2 separate regions of the Homo sapiens genome follow, and region 2 is linked to region 1. The links are contacts of gene promoters, found by promoter capture Hi-C in blood cells and fetal thymus (Javierre and others, 2016). All regions are on one chromosome and are shown on one strand. Each heading gives the region's core, a stretch centred on a gene start or on the middle of the fragment in contact. The rest is flanking DNA. Distances are from core to core; before and after follow the strand shown.

What was found. The method cuts DNA at HindIII sites, captures the fragments that hold promoters and counts their contacts. A CHiCAGO score of 5 or more calls a contact.
Region 2: a contact is called between a fragment that was not itself captured here and the fragment with the promoter of PPP1R3C in region 1, in 10 of 17 cell types (naive CD8 T cells, total CD8 T cells, non-activated CD4 T cells and 7 more). The highest score is 8.9, in naive CD8 T cells.

What each region holds. Positions count from the first base shown.
Region 1 is chr10:91,628,522-91,636,119 of GRCh38, reverse strand. PPP1R3C (protein phosphatase 1 regulatory subunit 3C) reads left to right here and starts at 3,049. Exons shown (of 2, transcript NM_005398.7): 1 at 3,049-3,164; 2 at 5,254-7,598. The coding sequence starts at 3,151. The coding sequence ends at 6,193. RefSeq lists enhancers at 2,417-2,916, 2,917-3,418 and a silencer at 2,943-3,082. The HindIII fragment of the contact is 3,050 bases long and covers 1,026-4,075 here.
Region 2 is chr10:91,306,462-91,314,059 of GRCh38, reverse strand. It overlaps HECTD2-AS1 (HECTD2 antisense RNA 1), which reads left to right. Exons shown (of 5, transcript NR_024467.1): 5 at 6,625-7,098. Among named protein-coding and RNA genes, the nearest start is that of PCGF5, 90 kb to the right of the region's middle. The HindIII fragment of the contact is 2,333 bases long and covers 1,525-3,857 here.

The DNA of each region.
Region 1 (7,598 bases), core at 1,800-4,299:
TGTAAGCCCCACAATTATCAGCTCCTTGCTTAGTAGCTTCTTAAAATGTCTGCTGGGTATTCTATGAATTTGTTTTTCTGTAATAATGATTGTAACCTCCTCAAGGTCAAAGGATTATGACTGCTCAGACTTTGTAACCCCTGGCATGGAGCTGGAACTACTGCATAGCTCAATAATTTCCTGCTGATAGATTGATTGTTAAGATGGGTAGGACCAAGCAATGTTTAGATGCTGCCAAACCACAGTGGGAGAAATCCTACGAATAATAGTACAACTCCCCACGATTCCTTTCTACTCTGTCTTCATTGGTGCAACCTACAACTAAGAACACTGATTCCATCCTAGTTTCTCTCATCCAATAATGAAGGGGAGCAAAAGCTGGGAAGGAGACAGAAGTGAAAAGCCTGGATCATCCAATTTAGAGGTTTATTGAGTGAGTGTTGAGTCCTTTTAGGAGAAAGCATGGTCTCCCTGAATCTTCCATTTGAAGGAGCTGAAAGGGAGAGTGACTTCTATGGCATTAGTCAACACCAGGGGGCAGGAGAGAAAGCTGTATGAATGGAACAGGCTGAAAGGGTGGTGTGAGTAAATGGCACAAGCATGTGAAAATTTCCACCACGGTTCTTGGCACCTAGCAGTACGCTATATGTGTTAGTTGAATCCCAGAGTTTTAACGCCCTTGAAAAATTATTTCTTAATTAGGTCGTGTATGTTCATTGTAGAAAAATTAAGAAAAACAACAGAGCAGCAAAACAACGAAGACATTTTTAATCACTCATAATCTCACCATTCCAAAATGAACTGTTCACATTTCTGTAGAGCACATTCTGTTTTCTATGCATGGATACCTTTCCCTCAAAATGCGATCACCATAAATTGTTATTCATGTTTCTCCATAGTTTTAACTGGTAATATTTACTATTTAGCTCAACATATAATCATGGGTAGAGGAAAAGAATACCCAGGGTTCTAGTTTTGGCTCAGACCTAGCCAGCCCCTGGCAAGCAGCTTGACCTGTCTAAGCTTTCAGTTCCTCATCTGTGAAATAAAGAGTTTGATGCCTATCACCTCCTACCTCCATAATTCTAACCATTGATGGGTCATTAAAATAAGACAATATGGTGCAGCGGTTATTGCTCTGGTATCAGCCAGGCTCTAATCCCTGCTCTACCTGTGAGAACCTGGGCAGGTTTTTTTTTTGTTTTTTGTTTTCGAGATAGAGTCTCGCTCTGTTGCCCAGGCTGGAGTGCAGTGGTGCAATCTCAGCTCACTGCAACCTCCGCCTCCCGGGTTCAAGCGATTCTCCTGCCTCAGCCTCCAGAGTAGCTGAGAGTACAGGTGTGCACCACCATGCCCGGCTAATTTTTGTATTTTTAGTAGAGATAGGGTTTCACCATGTTGGCCAGGCTGGTCTTGAACTCCTGGCCTCAAGTGATCCACTGGGCAGATTTCCTGACCATTCAGTGTCTCCGTTTTCTTTTCTCTAAAATGGGATTAATAATTGGACATATCACATAGGGTTGTTGTGAGGATTGAATTGATAGCACATAGTGTTTGGCACAGAGTAAAGGCTCAACAAGCAGCAGCTATTCTCAATATTTTAGCTCAGGCACCAGGCGCCTTGAGGTGATAGAGTAAAAACTCTAGCTGAGAGATCAAGTAGAAACTTGGGAACTAGCCCGGGTGGAACACAGGCACTGGGCATCGTGCTGAGTCTGTTCATTGGCACCATCTTACTTCATCTTCAGAACGTTACTATCTCTGTTTTACACATGAGGAAACTGAGGTTAGAACTTGCCTAGATTCGTGTAGCTAGTAAGTGTCAATCCAAAGACCTTCCAGCTAGTTTTGGTTGAGCTAAAGGGGCTAGAAGACCTGCCATTAGTTAGATATTTCATTTCAAAAATAAAACCCAGGCATGAAGTCCCTTTCCCAGTGATATTCAGTGTGATTTTTTTCTTCACTCTAATAATTTTAACAATTCCACTGTTTGACAGTTGTTTAAAAGACATAGGAATTTTTGTATATTTTAATTGACTAATGGATAGCTCAATTAGGGGAGCAAAACTAGGATGTGGGTTTTATAAAAATAATTTAGACTTGACTTAGACATTTAATTTTACAGTTGTAAATGATGGTCTAAAAATTCTTCAAACTAATCAAAATAATGAAACTTCAGCGAAAGTGAGTGGCTCAGAAGGCCCATGAAACATACGGCGTGATTTTTTAAATTTTATTTTAACATTTTGATTTCCACACCACTGCCAAAGGACGTCAGAATTGAGTAAGGGGTTTGGGTTGACTGCTGCCTCTTGACCGGCTGTATGTGTGAAAAGGGTCATTTCACTTCCGGCTTTAGTGTTCCCCGCAGGGGAGAAAATTGAAGAATAGACAGAAATACGAAGTGTCTTTTAATTAAATGCCACCTTGGTGTTTTATGGGGCTCGTATGCTTTCCTAACAACATTTGTTAGATAAGTTGGTAATTCCCGGCAGCTGTCTACTGTGTGGTGCATCTGTGAACTCATACTAATCGAAAAGCATGCAGCCAGTTTGGGATCGCGCAGGCTAAGGTGAGGGAGAAATGCGGATACACCGGGTAATGAACGATATAAACATTTCAAATGCGATACACATTCGGTTTGAGCCACATCTTCTGTGTGCAGATTCACCCGCAGTGACCCACAAAGCTATTCCCAAGTAACAGCCGCCCCAAGCCTGAGGCACTGGCGCCCCGCCTGGGCGAGGCTGGCTGCGCTCTCTCTTGGCCGGCGCCCGCTGCATGCGGTACGTGCCTGCCCGGCCCCTAGCCCAGGGTTCCCGTTACGCGGCTGGTTCCAGCTGGCCGCGGAGTCCCAGAACCTCCCCGCGATGCCCAGATAGCTCTCTGCACGTCTCGCCCCGGGGCGATCACGTTGCCGGGGCGAGGGCTGGCGCCCCAGCTGGGCGCTGGTTGGTCGCGCCCTGGGGCTCGAGGCCCGGCGATTGGTCCCAGGGATCGGGTCACGTGCTTGGGAGCAGATAAGCGGCCTCTAGGCGCCGGGCCCTCAGTCTCTCCCAGCGACCGCCGCGGGGGCAAGGCCTGGAGCTGTGGTTCGAATTTGTGCAGGCAGCGGGTGCTGGCTTTTAGGGTCCGCCGCCTCTCTGCCTAATGAGCTGCACCAGGTAGGTTCGCTGCAACTCTGCGCGCTAGGAACACAGGGGAACGCGCAGCTGTGGGGAAGTTGGGGGGCGTTTCAGTTCTATCATCTCTGGAAATGGACACCCCAGGGGGAGGACAAGTGGACTGACTGCGTAGTTGAATCTGGCAACCGAGAGGCCTTGGAGGTGTAGAAATTTGGCTCTATTTCTTAAGCAGAGCCTATTTTAGTAATCAGCATCTTAAAGCAGAAATTATCTTAACGTGAATCAGCTTGAGTTAGGATTTTCTCATGGATGCGGCTGTTCTTTTGGTCCTGCACAAATGTCCCAAAGACTCGGGCAGCTGAAGTGGTGAGAACAGCACTCTGACATTGCTGGTTAGGTGGTTTAGCTTGGAGGAAAAAAATTACAGGACGACGTTTGCATTCATTCGTCCTTCTTATCACAGTTTGCCATAGCAAAATCTCAAGAGTTTGAGCAAACGATTACTTTTAACTCTTGTCCAGGACTTAAAGTTCCAAGGAAATCACCCAAACTAAAACTGTCTTTCTATAAATGCAAAAAGTAAAAAAAAAAAAACAAAAAAACCAAAAAAAACCTCCCATAAAACTACTTTAAATAGCTTCTCCAGACATAGCTTAGCAGAAGACTTCTCTAAAAATCCTGCCTATTAACTATTATTAGACCCACAAATATAGCTTTAGCTTTCATTTGTTTGTTCTAAGTTTGCAGATCTCCCAGAAAAACCCCAGAGCTAACACAGTAAATTCTGCGAGTGTTATTACACACTTTTGTGATAATGACCACTTGCATACATGTTTAGAGCTGCTGTGAGGAGAGTTACTAAAGCCAGACTGAGAAATGTCGTGTACAGTATACACACACCTCTTACTTGTAAGGCTAAGATAGGGAAAAAAATCTTAATACCATAAGCTTGGAAATATATGATGAGGGCTAAAGGTCAGAGAAAAGTCTTCTTTATAGATGCTTCTTGGTTTAATATTGCTGAGCATAGTCATGTTTAAAACTTTAAATGGTTTTATTGTCTTTCTACTTATAAATGTCTATTAGAAAATGCCAAAAAAGAACAAAAACGAAAATAGATAATCTATAATCCTATCACCCAGAAATAATAATTATTAAATTATTAGGAAAGGTGTATTTCCTATAGAGTTTTTCAATATTTATAAGTTTGTATATATAAAATGTATATTTTAAAACACTCCAACTTTCAGGTAATCAGTTTTTCCACTTAAATGTGGACTTGTCATGGGCATCTCTTTAGGTGAATTATCAATTATATAGTTTTTAAGTGCATATGAATTGTTGGCTTGTATTTCAGTGGTTATTTGTGAAAAATAAGAGCATGATAATCAAAGTGCAAAGATGATTCTTTGACTTCTTCTCTAGCCTTCTCACTCTCAAAACTGTTGCATGTTATTTTTTTTTTTTCAAGTGAATTACCTTACCAGAGAAGTGTCAATCAATTTAGCAGCAAAATAAGCCAACGTAGCCAGAGGGAGCAGAGGGTCTGGAACTGTGGCTCCTGAACCTGTCTGGTCATTAGAATCACCTGGGAAGCTTTAAGAACATACCCATCCCTTGGCCCTAGCCCCAGAAGTTCTGCCTCAGTAGTTCTGAGTCCCAGGAATTGGAAAGAAAGAAGAAAGAGAAAGAGAGAGAGAGAGGAAGAAAGGAAGGAAGGAGGGAAGGAGGAAAGGAGGAAAGACAAGAAAGAAAGAAAATGAATTCCCTAGACATAGTGACCAGACAGGTTTGAGGACCACTGGTCCAGAACAGAGCACACAGTTCTCAAGGCTGCCTTGGAGATAATCAAATCGAACCCTTTTATTTCTCAGATGGGGAAACTGAGACCCCCATCACCCTCTAAGTGTTTTAAGCAATTAATAGCCTTTAGCCGGCCAAGGGTAGAGGTAGACATAGAAGATCTGATCACTTAATACTGTTCTCTTTTACTACATATGATAGCACCTGCCTGATATCTAGTGCACTGGCTATAATTCAGTCAGCACAAAAATAGTACATATGTATTTGGCACTGGGGAAGAGCATTTCCGATCCAGGTGATAATCCCTCTTCTTTTTGCATTCCAGAATGATCCAGGTTTTAGATCCACGTCCTTTGACAAGTTCGGTCATGCCCGTGGATGTGGCCATGAGGCTTTGCTTGGCACATTCACCACCTGTGAAGAGTTTCCTGGGCCCGTACGATGAATTTCAACGACGACATTTTGTGAATAAATTAAAGCCCCTGAAATCATGTCTCAATATAAAACACAAAGCCAAATCACAGAATGACTGGAAGTGCTCACACAACCAAGCCAAGAAGCGCGTTGTGTTTGCTGACTCCAAGGGCCTCTCTCTCACTGCGATCCATGTCTTCTCCGACCTCCCAGAAGAACCAGCGTGGGATCTGCAGTTTGATCTCTTGGACCTTAATGATATCTCCTCTGCCTTAAAACACCACGAGGAGAAAAACTTGATTTTAGATTTCCCTCAGCCTTCAACCGATTACTTAAGTTTCCGGAGCCACTTTCAGAAGAACTTTGTCTGTCTGGAGAACTGCTCGTTGCAAGAGCGAACAGTGACAGGGACTGTTAAAGTCAAAAATGTGAGTTTTGAGAAGAAAGTTCAGATCCGTATCACTTTCGATTCTTGGAAAAACTACACTGACGTAGACTGTGTCTATATGAAAAATGTGTATGGTGGCACAGATAGTGATACCTTCTCATTTGCCATTGACTTACCCCCTGTCATTCCAACTGAGCAGAAAATTGAGTTCTGCATTTCTTACCATGCTAATGGGCAAGTCTTTTGGGACAACAATGATGGTCAGAATTATAGAATTGTTCATGTTCAATGGAAGCCTGATGGGGTGCAGACACAGATGGCACCCCAGGACTGTGCATTCCACCAGACGTCTCCTAAGACAGAGTTAGAGTCAACAATCTTTGGCAGTCCGAGGCTGGCTAGTGGGCTCTTCCCAGAGTGGCAGAGCTGGGGGAGAATGGAGAACTTGGCCTCTTATCGATGAATTAAGCAACAATGTAACTGGTCTTGACTTGTCATATTCCCCCATGCAATCCTAGGTCTGTATTGCTCAATTTTAGGAAGCCTTTGCTACTCCATCAGTAGGTTTAGATTTGAGCTTTTGAGACCTGGCTATGGAAAAGAAAGACACTTGAGAATTTAGTGTTGGGGTCTGTACAGATGATGCTACCCAATTTGGCTTTGAAGGATCAAGTAACAGGTTGAAAACTATTTTTATAAAGGTAATACTTTTTCAGTTCCCTTCTTCCTTCCCTCTCAATCCACTAGCTTTCATGTTGGGCAAGGAAAAGTTGAGGAAGGATGGCTGATGGTGATGGAAAGCTGTGTTAATGGTATGAGGAATGTGTGAAAAGTATACACAAAGGGCTCTGAAGCTCAAGTCAGAGGAGTGGGAGGTCTGATCATTGTTGGTGGAAAAACGTAAGGTTATTTTGTGTTTTTAAGTTGGTTTTACAATTCTTTCCTGGGGAAATTATTTCTGGAGGGGAAAAAGATCCATTCTACGTATCCTTGTGGAGAAAAGCTAAATAACCTTTAAGAATGTGGGTGGTATTGGAGAAAGAAGATGAATTATAGCTCCGGAGAATCAAGATCTTAAGTGAAGCCTTTCTGTTCAGATGTGATCTATAAAAAATCATAATTTGGGGAAAGTTTAAGCAAATCTGGCTTTGTAGTCCTGATGTTATAAGTGACTTTGTGATCAAACTGTCAGGCTTGGGTTCTTGTTATAGAATGCTTGGTATAGAAAAACCATGCCATCATTAATGGCTAACAACACGTAGGGACTTCATGTCATGTCAAAGATAGCTCTTTGCAAGTGCCTTGATTAAACCAGAAAACTGTCATCGTTTAACCCAAATATCTGAATGGTCATCTGGTAACTCATGGGTTTTTGGCCTCATAAGATGGTCCACTCTGTACACAGGCATTCCTCCTGCAATAATGTTGTATCTTTGAGACCGTTGTCAGTGTACACAACTCACATCCTTCATATTGAAGGTGACTCATTTTTCTGCACACTTTTTTGATGTGATGCTTGACGTGAGGCCCGACACTAGGATTCTCAATGCAAGAATCCAGTACCTTGCACATAGAAGTAGCAACCCATCCCTTGCCTATTTTCATCTTGCTGTTTTCTTTTTTTTAAAAAAATGGATGTGACTTGTTTTGAATGTTTTGTATTATACTTGTTTTTGTGTGTGCATAAATTCATTCTGTAGGATCTTAAGAAAAAGAGTCCCAGAATGTTGCTTCTATTATTGTGCACAACCATTGAGAGGTGTTACAAGAATGCAGTTAATTTTAACATGTGTGATGTGCCATGGTGGAAAAGTACTATCGGAATAACTCTGCAGTGACAGAATTTGAAGTTTGGCTAGCATCCATAC
Region 2 (7,598 bases), core at 1,442-3,941, 320 kb after region 1:
TACTGTTGCCTTGGCTGGAGAACATTTGTAGTTTAGACTGATTGTCAGAGATTAGTCACGGGGATGTACAACATGAAGTCAGCCTTGCTCCCCTACGTGGGGGCAGAGCTAGCTTCAATCACAAGTTGTTTCTGTGAATGTTTACTCCCTCATTTCCTCTCAGAGGAGAATAGTTTCTGAGCCTTTCTAGTAACCAAGTCTTTGTTCAGTAACTAAGAAACATCACTTTGTAGAAGCCTCTAATAATTATCCTCATGACGCTCATCTTAACAGGTGTTACACTGCTTGCCTTAATTAAGCAGAGGCTGCTTTCATTCCAGAAAGCTTTTATGATTTTAATTTACATTCTGATGGATGCTACATGTGCAGGCTCTGAAAGTTTTTTGTTCTTTTTTTTTTTTTTTTCTGAGTTGGAGTCTCACTCTTGTCCAGGCTGGAGTTCAATGGCGCGATCTCAGTTCACTGCAACCTCCACCTCCCAGGTGCAAGTGATTCTCCTGCCTCATCCTCCCAAGTAGCTGGGATTACTGGCATGTGCCACCATGCCCAGCTAATTTTGTATTTTTAGTAGAGACAGTGTTCCCCATGTTGGCCAGGCTGGTCTTGAACTCCTGACCTCAGGTAATCCATCCACCTCGGCCTCCCAAAGTGCTGGGATTATAGGTGTGAGCCACTGCGCCCAGCCTGTTTTCATTTATGGAGTAAGACACTCACTGATGAATGGTCCTATGCTTGTATGTCTTTGTATATGCTTGGTCTGAAAATTGACAAAGGGCTCAACAGCCCCATTCAAGAGTAGAGAAGAAAAATTCAGGGTTTTTCTACAGTGGTAATACCCAGAGGCAATTGGTCCAGTTATTATTAATGTGTAGTGAATGTCCCCATTATTTAGCAGCTTAAGACAATTATTGTATTTTGAGAGTCAGGTTTAGAAACAGTTTGACAGTTCTCACTGTCTCTCATGTGGTTGCAGTCAGATATTGGCTGGGGTTGCAGTCACCTGAAGGTTTGACTGAGCTGGATGTCCAAGGTGGCTCATGCACATGGCTGATAGTTGACACTGGCTGGGTTTTTTTTTTTTTTTTTTTTGCTTTTTAACTTTAATTTTTTGTAGAGATGGGGTTCTGCCATGTTGACCAGGTCAGTCTTAAACTCCTGATCTCAAGTGATACCCATCATGACAGCCTCTCAGAGTGTTGGTATCACAGCATGAGCCATTGTGCCCAACACTGGCTGTTGACTGGTTCAGCTGGGACTGTTGACCAGAGGCCCACAAACACATGGCACCTCCAGCACAGCAATCCCATGGTCCTAGGATAGTCCAAGTTCTTAGATGGTGGCAGAGGCAGGCTCTCCTAGATTGAGCACCCTAAGAGAATCAGGTAGAAGCAGCATGGCCTTTGCTGACAGCCTCAGAAGTTATGCCACATCACTTCCATTGCTTTCCATTGGCTACAGCTGAGTCACAAGATAGGCCAGAAGTCAAGGGGAAAACATATAGTTGACCTGTCTCGATGAGAAGCTTATCAAAGAATTTCACTTACTATGTGCATTCTCCCAGATGACTGAGCCCAGAGATAAGACTTTTCCCCTTTGCCGCTTTTCTAGCTAAATAGTAGATTTTCCCTGTCTTTTCCCTTATTTGTCCAGTACTGAAGAAAGGAACTTTATCCAGTATACATTTTTTACCTTTAAATTCTCAGTTAAAGAGAAGGAAAGATGCATCTCTGTTGTTTATTCATTGATTTGACAAATGTGTGTTATTTATAAATGGGTGTCTCCCTCCAACAAACTCATGACACAGCACAGAAAGACAGAAAGCCATGTGTTTTTAGTAATTCTATCTCCATGTGTGCAACTTGCAATAATAGCTACTATATGAGTGCTAAGAACAATGTTATAGGAATTGGAAGGCAGTGGTTATTTCTGAGATTGGAGGGAGGAGAAAGGAAAGGCAGCTTTTAAGGAGCCTCATTGGAGTCAGTCATTGCAGTGTTTGGGGGCTGGATCTCACAGACACCTGGCTTAGAATCAGGTATTTGAAGTGGAGGAAGAAAAATGTAGAAAGAGATTTATTCTGGAATTTTTAACTTTCTGCCTTATGCCTAGAGCTCTGCCTGGGAGAAAGTGGATATTAATAAATGCTATTTGACAAGCAAGACTCAAAGTCTAATGAAACTATAAACTATTTCAAAATTACAAACATCTGGCTTCCCCATGTGTTCCTTGTCAGTAAACTGCAAATAACTTAATGTGACCAGCAAAATATTCAAAGCCAAGGCTGTCTGAGCTGCTCAGTGGCCATGTCTTTTTCATGTATTCATCTATGCAGTAAGTAGTTATTGAGCACTGGCCATGTGTCAGGAATGTACTAATAGGGATAAATTGGTGAGCATGATATATTGCATCAACCTTGGTTTTGGAACATGGTTCTGTTTTGTTCAACTATGCTGAACTTGTATAAAGGGAATTGATTAACATTCAACTCAAAACTAAATGGGAGTACTCCTTTCTGGGAGGGAAGTTGATATGGCTTAGATATCATCAAACCTACACATGGTGAGAATTATACCATCAGAACCACATAGTGAAGCCCCAGATGCTGGTGTTAGTGCTGGTGTTTGTGCAGCATGTTGCCAGATTAGAATTTTGACTTTGAATAAGAGTGCAGAGATCAGAAGGATCAATGGTGAACCCTTCCTCATATTTTCTCCCAGTGTCATAGAGGAAAATCAATTGGCTATTAATGGAAAACTGAAGACAAGCTACTGCCTTAAACCAAACTTTAACTGGCACTGTCCCTAATGAACAGAACTTCATATTATGTTTTTTAAAAGTTAAAAATCTCAATGAACAAAGACATCTTCTTTTTTTTTTTTTTTTTTTTTGGAGATGGAGTCTCACTCTGTTGCCCAGGCTGGAGTGCAGTGGAATGGTTTCGGCTCACTGCAACCTCTGCCTCCCGGGTTCAAGTGATTCTCCTGCCTCAGCCTCCTGAGTAGCTGGGATTACAAGCATGTGCCACCATGCCCAGCTAATTTTTGTATTTTTAGTAGAGACGGGGTTTTGCCATGTTGGCCAGGCTGGTCTCGAACCCCTGACCTCAGGTGATACACCTTGGCCTCCCAAAGTGCTAGGATTACAGGAATGAGCCACCATGCCTAGCCAGACAAAGACATTTTCAATGCTGTATTCCCTTTAGTTCTTCTCATCAAAATGATATGATCCTCCCCGTGTAAGCTGTATATCCTGATCTATTTTCAGATTTATATTTTATATTGTTTGCTGTGATTCATCTTGTTTTCAAAATACATATTCAAATCTCTTTTTAAAAGTATGTTTACTTATGAGGAAAAGAGCCTCCCTTCCCTGTAGATCCTAAAAGAATTTCTGGAAAGGTGATGTAGGCAGAGGGAAACTGGAGTTTACACATGTATATAATAGAGAAAATGTGAAACTGGGTGTGATAGTTCCTGACTTCAGCTGGTGGTCAACTCCTTCATTTCTCTCTAAATGTAGCTCTTATGTATTTTATAACAGTAAAAGCCATATTTCAAAATTTCTGAGTCTGTAGCTTTTGGTTATTTTGTCACAAGTTGGACTTTGGGACTCTGCTCTTGTGCCTATAGACACTGTAGGGTTAGAGGTATTGGTAGGAAAATTGGGGATATTGGCACATGCTCGTTATTGCTTGAAGCCTTTGAGAAAGGGATAGTCTAAGAGGCAAGTTTAGGTGAAAAGTGACATGCCTGAATGCAGAAAGGGAAGACAGTTGAGTTTTGCTAATACAGACTCCTCCTGCCCATAACCTAGAATCTAAATCGATTTGAAGGCCATAGTTTGGAGATTTTCAAGCTTGCAAATCCCAATTTTGTACAAAATTGATATCCTTCTCCTACTCACCTCCCAAAAGGTAGAGAAAAAAGAAATTTCTCCGGAGATATGACTGATAAAATTGGGACAAAAGCAAATCTGATTCCCCATGCCTCTCCTTAATATCCCTCACCACACATCCTTTGTAAGACAGGAGGCACTATCTAGCTTAGGTGCACCCAGGAGGGCTGGGGTCACAGGTGACATCACCCCTCCCCTGCTTCACACCCTCTTCCACCACATGGCTTTTGTTACCAGTTGCCTCAAGGTGGAAGCCATTAAACTTCGTGCTTGAAGGTGGGAAAATCATAGAGACATGTGGGGAGGAGGAGGGATTGTGGCTCTCACAGGCCTCGTTCAGACAAGATGACTGGCCATTATCGGTGCCTGGACCTGACCAGAAGTGAATTTCAAACTGATAAAAGTCTGGAACAATTCAAGCCCTATTGTCCTGAGGCCATAGAATCTGTATCTACTGGAAGTGAGCTGTTAAATCTGGCAGCATCCAGGAGGGCATCTTCTTCAACGCTTACCCCAGAAATGGCCATGGAAGACAATGGGCAAGGGAGGCTCCAGTGGAGTGGAACTAGGGACGTCCATGGGGCTGACAGAGAAACTCACTCGATTCCTGGGTCATGGAACTAGTATTTGCTATTGATGTCCTTCAGGAAATAACATGTGCTATGGATCAGTGATGACAGTCACTTTTCTGAATGAAAGGTTTTATTGGGTTTATCTTGTTTTTTTCTTGATGAGACTTTAGGTTCTTTTCACCCTTGGAAGGACTATGTGCATTTTGTGGAAGTATGAGCACTTTTTGAACAATGTATGGAAGCTAGGAAGTCAAAGAGGTAGACTGTGGAAGATAATGGTTGGGTAGTTTTTAGCCCAATAATCTTTCTCCCTGTCTCCCTTGCCAGAAGAGCCATTGTTTTGTTTGAAAGTCACTCAGGCAAGGGGACTGTATTCCTCATTTTAGGGATAAACACTGTTGTTATATGCCAAGTATGGTAATCTCATTCCCTTTGCCAGTGGTTGATTTTTCCAACGGACCTGGATATAATTCTGGCTGATAAGAAGTGGTAGGTTTCTAAGAATTGGGGTTCGTGATTTGCATTCTAATTCTTACAGAGGGTAAAGAAGAAAAACTACAGGTGTTGATGGAATTTATATTCAGAATCTGTATCTCAAGGCAAGTGAAGAAAGGTCTACTAGAACAGCCCTGGGAATAAATTACTGTTTGCTTGCTTGGTAAAAATTAGAATAGTATTGTTTTCCAAAAATTATGTACAAATTGCAGTAAGGCATTATTTGTCTTTAGAGTCATTGAATGCTATTTGCTGAAATAAACAATATGCAGTCTGATTAAGTTTTTTGAAAGGGTCACTTTTAAGGACAGCTGCAGCATGCTTTTCTTTCAGAAGCTCTGTTCTGCGCAAGGGCAGGAGGTGGGTCATTTGTTTTTCCTACTTCATAAGGAGGAAGCAGCCCGTGCCCTCACTTGAGCTGAGCAGCATAAGAAGAATCTCAATGAAGCCTCCAACTTAATAAGATCAGTTTCTCTCTTCTGCAAAGTTCCAGGCAGCTTGTATGATTTAGATATTTTACCATCAGGATCAATAGATCATCAGGAGAACAAATAGCTACTTCTACTATGTTTCTATTATTGATTTCTAGCCTACTTTAAGAAAAATAACATTTAAATACAAAGCTGGGGATACTACTCAGCAATAAGGATGGACTACAGCCCCATGCAACAACATGGATGCATCTTACCAATGAGAAAGAAGCCAGACATGAAAGAGAACATCCTGTATGATTCCTTAAAGTTCAGAAACAGGCAAAATGTTCTATGATGTCAGAAGTCAGGAGCATGGCTACCCTGAGGTGAGGGGATACTGACTGGGAGGGTTGCTAGATATCTTCTGATTCTTTTATGTTTTTTTGTTTTGTTTTGAGACAGGGTCTTGCTCTGTTACTCAGGCTGGAGTGGAGTGGCATGACCATGGCTCACTGCAGCCTCAACCTCCTGAGCTCCAGTGATCCTCCTGCCTAAGCCTCCTGAGTAGCTGGGACTAATGGCAGGCATCACCATGCCCAGCTATTTTTCATTTTTATTTTTAGTAGAGACGAGGTCCTGCTATGTTGTCCAGGCTGATCTTGAACTCCTGGGTGGGCTCAAGTGATCCTCCCACCTTGGCTTCCCAAAATGCTGTGCTTACAGGTATAAGCCATCATGCCCAGCCTGTTCTGATTCTTAATCTGGGTGTTGGTTTTACAGGTATGTGTATTTTGTGAGAAGTTATGATTGTGCAGTTTTTTAAATATGTATCTTATCATTCAATTAAAAGTTTGCCAAAAAACTACAAAACTGACCCTTAAAGGGTATCTGGTAAAATTCATGTGTTTAAGAAAGACATGAGGTGACAGAAACCAGAATGTCAGAGCTATTGGTGGACTTCCCCCTTTGTATTCATTTTAGTCACCCTAAAGCTGTTCAAACACTTGTTTTGGTTAGGGCCATGGTTACAAGTGACAGAATCAAATCCCAATTAGCTTCATCTCAAAGGGGAATTGATTTGAGCCACAAAAATCTAAAAGAAAATGTTGAAAAACCAAGTATGGGAAAGAGTGGGGATGCAGATGGGCTTCACGAATAACTAGAGCCAAGTTACTGAGGTGCATGAGGAGGCTCCCCTCATTCCTCCTGTGCTGTGTGTGTGTTGCCAGCTTCCTTCTCTTTCCTTGCAGACTGGATCACTCCATGTCAGTGGAAACATGTCCACCAACTTCATCATTGTCTGTTGTCATGGTTCACTTTAGATGTAAACTTGACTGGATTAAGGATTCCCTAAAGTGTCAGGCCTCTGAGCCCAAGCTAAGCCATCATATCCCCTGTGACCTGCATGTACACATCCAGATGGCCGGTTCCTGCCTTAACTGACGACATTCCACCACAAAAGAAGTGAAAATGGCCTGTTCCTGCCTTAACTGATGACATTATCTTGTGAAATTCCTTCTCCTGGCTCATCCTGGCTCCAAAGCTCCCCCACTGAGCACCTTGTGACCCCCACTCCTGCCCACCAGAGAACAACCCCCTTTGACTGTAATTTTCCTTTACCTTCCCAAATCTTATAAAATGGCCCCACCCCATCTCCCTTTGCTGACTTTCTTTTCAGACTCAGCCCTCCTGCAACCAGTTGATTAAAAGCTTTATTGCTCACACAAAGCCTGTTTGGTGGTCTCTTCACACGGATGCAAGTGAAATTTGGTGCCGTGACTTGGATTGGGGGACCTCCCTTGGGAGATCAGTCCCCTGTCCTCCTGCTCTTTGCTCCGTGAAAAAGATTCACCTACAACCTCGGGTCCTCAGACCCACCAGCCCAAGGAACATCTTACCAATTTTAAATTGGGTAAGCAGCCTCTTCTTACTCTCTTCTCCAACCTATCTCACTATCCCTCAGCCACTTTCTCCTTTCAATCTTGGCGCCACCCTTCAATCTCTCCCTTCTCTTAATTTCAGTTCCTTTCCTTTTCTGGTAGAGACAGGAGACGCACTTTATCCATGGACCCAAAACTCTGGCGCCGGTCATGGACTCGGGAAGACAGTCTTCCCTTGGTGTTTAATCACACAGGGACACCTGCCTGATTATTCACCCACGTTTCAGAGGTGTTTGACCACAAGGGGATGCCTGCCTTGGTCCTTGACCCTTAGCAGCAAGTAC